Regions from separate parts of the Homo sapiens genome. Here region 1 is linked to region 2. The links are contacts of gene promoters, found by promoter capture Hi-C in blood cells and fetal thymus (Javierre and others, 2016). All regions are on one chromosome and are shown on one strand. Each heading gives the region's core, a stretch centred on a gene start or on the middle of the fragment in contact. The rest is flanking DNA. Distances are from core to core; before and after follow the strand shown. Region 1 overlaps WRNIP1 (WRN helicase interacting protein 1). Region 2 holds the start of SERPINB1 (serpin family B member 1).

Evidence for each region. Contacts are between HindIII fragments. The CHiCAGO score rates a contact against its expected background, and 5 or more counts as called.
Region 1: a fragment that was not itself captured here is called in contact with the fragment with the promoter of SERPINB1 in region 2 in 3 of 17 cell types (megakaryocytes, total CD8 T cells and activated CD4 T cells); the score reaches 6.8 in megakaryocytes.

Annotation. Positions count from the first base shown.
Region 1 is chr6:2,768,544-2,772,329 of GRCh38, reverse strand. It overlaps WRNIP1 (WRN helicase interacting protein 1), which reads right to left. Exons shown (of 7, transcript NM_020135.3): 2 at 3,448-3,639; 3 at 1,969-2,210. It also overlaps a transcript of MYLK4 not described here. Among named protein-coding and RNA genes, the nearest start is that of WRNIP1, 5.0 kb to the right of the region's middle. The HindIII fragment of the contact is 356 bases long and covers 1,734-2,089 here.
Region 2 is chr6:2,839,695-2,843,249 of GRCh38, reverse strand. It overlaps SERPINB1 (serpin family B member 1), which reads left to right and starts at 1,387. Exons shown (of 7, transcript NM_030666.4): 1 at 1,387-1,438; 2 at 2,656-2,831. The coding sequence starts at 2,664. RefSeq lists a silencer at 1,443-1,492. The HindIII fragment of the contact is 1,424 bases long and covers 1,159-2,582 here.

The DNA of each region.
Region 1 (3,786 bases), core at 662-3,161, 71 kb after region 2:
GAAATAGTAAATCATTTACTGGATATGGGAAGTTTTCTCTGAAAAGCAATTTTAGCAGATAAACAATCTCTAGCTCATTGTTATATCAGTTTCAATAACTAAATCTTAATTATTTCACTTGATCTTCTCAAACTTTAATGTGCCTGCAAATCACCTGAGGATTTTTAATAATAAAATATAGAAATTCTTCTCACAAGGATGAGCTCCTTGGCTGCCGCCTTTCTCATTTCCTTTAAATTCCTGCACGGCAGTGACTGGGGAGAGGTGAAAAAACCTGAGGGTATCTGAGTAACAACTGATTATTATTGACTTCATGTCATCAATATTAATTATTGATTTCATGTTCTATTTCATGAACTGATGACATGAAATCAATAAAAATCACCCCAGACAAGTACACATGCAGAATATTAAGTTGCAGATACATTACGATAACCAGTACACAGAGCAAAGAACACACAGAAACATGAAACATGTTAGGATTTCCCCCCTTTTCTTTCAATTTGTCTTTACCATGTGGTTCTATGCGTCTGTAATGAGAATTCTGTTACGGGAAACCTACACATGAGTATCCCACATCTGAAGTGCCTGGGACCAGAAGTGGTCTGAATTTCCTATTTTTTTGATTTTAGAATATTTGCATTATATACTTACCAGATGAGCACCCAAAATCCAGAAATCTGAAGTGCTCCAATAAGCATTTCCTTTCACAGCATCATGAAGGTGCTCAAAAAGCTTTAGATTTGGGAGCATTTTGGATTTCAGATTTGGGATACTCAACCTGTACTACATATGAGGAGCTGGCAGCCCCCTTAGGCTCTGACAAATGCCCACCACATAAAGCACTTCTGAGTATGAGTCCATGTGGCTGATACCACAGGTTCCACACACTGCTTGTGGCCACAGATGTAATGGCTATCCCCATCACAACGGTATTCCAAAACAAGGCCACTCTGTCCTACCCAGTGGTCCACGGGCCAAATGTTTCAATGCTTTCATTAGACACAGCAGAATTCTCCCTCCATCTCAGACAGGAGCAAATGGGGCCAGACACATAGGGAGAGCCTGGTGAAACCTAAACCCTGAGCCTAAACTATGCCTTGTACTTTAATCCTCACAGAAAAGTGGCTCCAGAACTTGGCCTCAGGGCAGGCACGAGCAGCTGCAGAGTCCACAGCAGGAGGAGGTGGGCAATAGCCTCTCATCACACCAGATTATGTTCCATGGCAGTATTTCAGCCAACGTATGAACAAATACCATCTGAAGAATATGTTCTAATATTAAAAAAAAGGAAAACCCCTGACCCAAGAAATCAAATTATCTATGATATACACTTGGTGCATTAACGAGCTCATGTGGTACTCATGATGCAGAAATAGGTCACTAAAAGGATAGGGACAGCCTATAATGTCATATTCAGTTAACATTCCTTTACTTTCATGAAACTGAGTTTCAACTACACAAAAAGGATTACATAATTTTAAGGTTACAAGTTAATTTTTACTTGATTTTTTTTTTTTAACAAAATGCTAAACTGCAGGTTAAAAAGAAATTGAAACATGAGTACAATGCTCAAAAGAGTTGTATGGTAAGTCTAGAAAGTATTTATCTATCTATTTGTTCTATTCAATGAGGGACATAAAGCCTTTCAAATCATCAATAAGGCTTCCCATAGAAGCCTAAGCACAAAAGCAAACACCCAAGAACCAAAACAACAAAGCAAAGTTAAAGCTTGAAGAATTATAGAAACACATATTAGAGGCTGGAAAATGCATCTTCAAGTGTGCAGGGATAACTTTGTTAGGTATAATCGAACATTTCCCTCCTCTTTTATTTTCATTACGGGCGGATCAACATTTCTTCTCTGTCCCCACCCTCTCCTCACTGACGCCCGGCCCTTTCTGGCCCCCTGCCAGGAGACTCTCTGGGAGGTGTGTGCCCCCAGGACGCTGCACACTGTCAACTTACTCTGAGCTGCTGTTGCTGCTGTGGCTCAGAGGGTCAGTGGGACGGCTAGAGTCTAGGACGTGGATTCCCAGGGAGTTGATCGCTCGCATTAAAATAGTCACCATTGCCTCTACTGGAAGCTTCTCAAGAACAATCACTCGACAGCGGCTCAGAAGAGCAGCGTTGACCTGGAAGGAAGGGTTTTCAGTGGTTGCCCCAATCAGAGTGATCGTCCCACATTCCACGTGAGGAAGGAAAGTGTCCTAATCATGGGAGGAAAACAGAAAAAAGTGATTCCAGTCAACAGCCACCTGCAGAATCCTATGTAAGTTGGCTATCCCTTCCTTCCTTTTCCTCATTTTTATCTTTCGAGTTCAGGAATAGCAGCAGCCTTATATTCACTGAATATAGATGCAATATTTGGGGGAGTACAACTCTTGCTTTTAAGTCTGAAACACATCTTCTGGAATGCCCGTCCAAGCCTGATCTCTTGCTGGTAGACTAATAGCTTTAAGTAGAATTCTAGCTTAGTTTCAACATAAATGATTTCTTTACTCAGAAAACCATCTTCTACCAAAGGCTGAACTGGCACATAGCTTATATGTAACAGCTATTTATTTATAGACAAGAACACACAAAAACATTAACACTTCCAGAATCTTCTTCCACAGCAAGCACTCAATCATATTATTATTATTCCTATTATGCTGTTTTATGGGGAAAAAATACTAAGATGAGTCAGTGGTCCAATATGAAACCTAGAATGCTAACGCCTCGTCAGAACTTTAAAAGGGTCTTTTTATTCAAAAAGGTTCAAAAAAGGCTCAGTAGAGTTTTGTGAAATATTCTATGTATGATTAAAAAGTTACAAAAAAAAATTTTTTAAAGTTATGCCTAAAAATTTAATTTTTTTTTATTTAGAGTATAGCTCTCAGATCTCAGCCCAATAAAATTTTAATGTTTATTTTTTTTTAAATCCCTAAGTGGCTTTGTTTATAAAAATAGCTTGTGTCCTTTTATTTCAGAAACCCATTTAAATAAACAGTAATCATTAGCTCTTCCAACATTCACCTTGAAGACAGAGCCTGGAGTTACAGAAAATACCGATTGTTTAATTTTCAAAATAAAAATACTGTTAAAGTAATTTTTAAAAACCCATTAAAATAATGACCTTAAAATCATTATTTTACTGTTCACAATGACTCCTAGTATTTAGATTAAAAATTCCTAAAACTGGAAATTTGATTCAAAGGTGCTTTTCTGATACGTATAGCTCAGGGATATGCCAACCATTTCATTTATCAGATAGAGAAAGCATTTTCTTGTTATCAAAAAACACTAAGAAATGTATGGAGAAATAGGCTTGAAGGAGATGGGTTCACAAGCCTACGCTTCTTTGTAAACAAAGCTCGTAAGTCTCTAGCGTTTGTATAGTGATCTCACACACTTTATATTGTTTGATGTTCACAACGACCAAAAGGTAGAAGGAAGTTAATATACCTGCTGAGATTTATTGAACCGATGAATCTCATCAATAAAAAGGATGGTTTTCCTTTTGAAAAAGCTCTTTTCATTTTGAGCTTGTTTTATGACATCTCGCACATCATTTGTCTTGGCATTTGTTGCAGATAATGTCACAAACCTTATGCTATGTTTCTTGCTGTTGCTGGCTATGATGTGAGCCAGAGTGGTCTAGAAAAGATGACATACATGGAGTTTGAAAAGCTGGTAAGACACAGAGAGACCAGCACCCATGGGAACCACCACACGCAGCATCACTATTTACCAAAAGCAACTTGACCTCGGAAGAATGCTGAGCAGCACAGAAACAATCAAAAA
Region 2 (3,555 bases), core at 138-2,637:
CCACCTCCACCTAGATTTTGAAGGATGTGTTGGGGACCCTGGGGGCCCAGTCTGAGAATTGTCACTGAGGTGAGGCTGCTGCAGAAAACCCTCACTAGGGCAATGTTTAGTGGAGCAGTGGGATTGGGGCCACTGCAGAGAGCCCCAAATAGAGTAATATCTAGTGGAGCTGTGGGAACAGGGCTGTCCCTGAGAACCCAGAACTGTCCAGCCACCAGCATGCAAGTCTATCCTGGGAGAGCCTAGACCTCAACCTGTGAGAGCTGCTGCATGGGTTGCACCTGGCAAATCCATGGGAGTGGATCCCCTGGACACTAGGGGACCCAGTCTCCACCCCCCTGTGCTCGGAATGGGGGACACAGCATCAAAGAAGATTATTCTGAAGCCCCAAGATTTAATGCTGTTTGCCTTGTTGGGTTTGGACTTACTTGGGACCAGATACTCCTTTCTTCTTGCCTGCTTCTCCCTTTGGGAATGGGAATGTACGTCCTATGCCTGTCTCATCACTGTATTTTGAAGGCCTGTAACCTATTTGATTTCACGGGCTCATAGCTGGAGGGGAATTTCACTTAGGATGAATTGTACTTTGAATCTTATGCCTTTCTAATTTAGAAGATATTTAGGTGAGACTTTGGACTTACATTTTAAAGTTGATACTGGAACTTTGGAGGCCACTGGGATACAATGCATGCATTTTGCATGTGAGAGGGGTATGAATTTGGAGGGCAGGGGCAGAATGCTATGCTTTGAATGTCTGTGTTCCCTGCAAAATTCATGCTGAAACAATCCTCAATGCAATACTAACAGGTGGTGCCTTTAGGAGGTGACTGGATTATGAGGGCACCTTCCTCATGAATGGGATTGGCCCCTTATACGAGAGACTTCACATGAGATTTGGCCCCTTTTGCCCTTCCACTTTCCACCATTGAGGACGCAGCAGCAAGCTGTCATCTTGGAAACAGAGAGCAGGTGTTTGGAACTGGTTCTGTTTCATCTGATTCTGGGGGCCCCTCTTTTTCCCTGTGCAAGATCCCCAAATTTGCTTCCTTCTCTCAAAGAAAGCTCCCAATATAGATGGGACTCAAAGGGAGTCATTTGCCCTCTAAGAGGTGTCACAATATGTCGTCTCAGTCATTCACACCTTAGTAAGAAAAAGCTTTTCAGGTCCTTGCCAGAGATTCGGGGAAAGGCTTTGAACTGAGAAAGAAGCCGCGCCCCTGAGGAGGGCGCTGCCCGGAAGCCACGCTCACTTCTGCTTGCACTTAGGCGACCTCGGGAGCTCGGACTCCTACGCAGTCACCGGGAAGGGCCGCCGCCCCGCCCGCGGCTGCTGGCCCGGGTGACGCTTCCGCCTGCTATAAGAGCAGCGGCCCTCGGTGCCTCCTTCCTGACCTCGCACCCAGCTCGGAGCCCGGAGCGTGCCTCGGCGGCCTGTCGGGTAAGGCCGGGCCTCGGAGCGGTGGCGCGGGGGCGGGCGCGGGGAGAGGCCAGGCTCCCTCGCTCAGCTTCCAGCCCGGCACCCCCCACCCCCCAGGCTCAGGCCCCTCAGACCCGCAGCTCCCTGCGCTCGCCCTCCCCGCCAGCTTCGCGCCCCCATCCCTTCCGGGCGCCCCGACGGAGACAGACGACCTCTGATCCCCCGCCCCCGCCTGGGTACAGGCCGGGCCAGCCCGCGAGGGAGGGAGGGAGGGAGGACGACAGATGCAGGCGGAAGGCAAGACTGAAACCTGAGATCAGAATGTTGTCCCTTCTCCCTGAATTCCCTTCCTCCCAGAGCTGTTTGTGACGGTTTCCAGGCAGCCCAGGGCCAGGCCGCGGCTCCTATCTGCAGCTGCAGGGAGAGAGAGGAGGAACCCCGTGCGATTCTAGAGACGATTTCACAACAAGGAGAAATCAGCTTTGTGCTTACATGCCGAGCAGCCAGCACGGTTCTTCTTTGCCTGTCCTCGGGGGAAATCAGGGCTCTGAGAGTGGAGATCGAGATGGGCTAGTGGGTGGCGGATGGGACGCTGCACGGCCAGACCCTGGACTGTGGTGGGTTTCCAAACTGGCACATCCTACACCGGCTCTGAGACTGTGGGCACTGGACCTCATACCTTTTGAACCTCAAAAATAAGGAAGAATTATATTATTATAATAATTACAGTGATACCTTTGCTGGAGTTTTAATGCATAGTAGGTAGCTGAGTCTCTGATAGAAGGCTCTTAGTTCAGGTGAAGGTAGGCAATGGATTCATTGCCCAATGAATCAGAGACTTGAATCAAAGGCTCAGAAGCACGTGCGCTCCCACACATAGGTTGGGAAGACCCAGGGCTGGGTGGGCCCTCCCACCCCACTAAAGCTGGGGTAGCTGGGGCCTGCCTTACCCCCGCCCCACCCCCAGACTCACCTGTCTGCAAGGTCAGAGCCCTTTAGGGCACCCTGGGTGCCCTAAAATCCCCTATAACTGCTGAGTCCTTGGCCAGAATGGTCCCACATTTGTGGGCCTGGGAAAGTGTTCTTGCCCTGCTGGAATAAAAAAGCGGGGAGAAAGTACAAGATCCAGGATGCCTCAGGGCGGTTGGCAGAAATTGAGGAAGCTTCTGGAGAAATAGTGCTGCCTAATCTGCTGGCGTGGGCAGTGGGCACCATGAGGACCCTGTTCTGTGTTGCAGTTTTCACCATGGAGCAGCTGAGCTCAGCAAACACCCGCTTCGCCTTGGACCTGTTCCTGGCGTTGAGTGAGAACAATCCGGCTGGAAACATCTTCATCTCTCCCTTCAGCATTTCATCTGCTATGGCCATGGTTTTTCTGGGGACCAGAGGTAACACGGCAGCACAGCTGTCCAAGGTCAGCAGAAACAAAAAAAAGGGTCTGCTTTCCTCCCATCTCCCTACGAATGGACAGTCTGCATGGAAAGGTTGTGCCTTTGAGCTCTTACCTTGTGTTTTCAGAACTGTATTTTTATGAGATCAGACTTTCAGAAAAGTCACACTTGTATGCAGGCTTCCATTCATCATCAGGTTTTTCCTAAGTACCTACCACGTACCAGGAACTGTTTTTCGTATTGCTGAGGAGACAGCAGTGAGCAAAGCTGACAAAAATCCCTGCAGGGCGAGGCTTCTGTTCCAGTGGATGAATCTGACAGCTTTCCTGAAAGGCATACTACATCCTCCTGAGCTAGCATCTTCCAGTTTTTGCTTTGCATATGATGATATGCAACTCATAAATATTGCCTGTTATATAACACTACTTTCAAGCATAATGAGAGGAATAAGACATAGGGAATGCATTATAGTGGAGATAGTGGCATTGCTTTTTTGCAAGGAAAAGAGAAAAAGTGACCCTGTGGTTCTGTAGTCCCAGGGTGCTGCGCATGGCTCAGTGGGCTGTGGCATAGCACGCCCTGCAGGGGAGGTGAGGGGGAGACCCGCAGCTTCAGGGGCGGGACCCAGCCCTTGGCGATGTGACAGGTCACTCTCATGCCCAGCCTTCCTTCTTGTCCATAATGGACATGGAGAGGACTTCTGTGCTTGGTACTCTTTAATTCTGAGAAGAGAACTCTAGCTCTCTC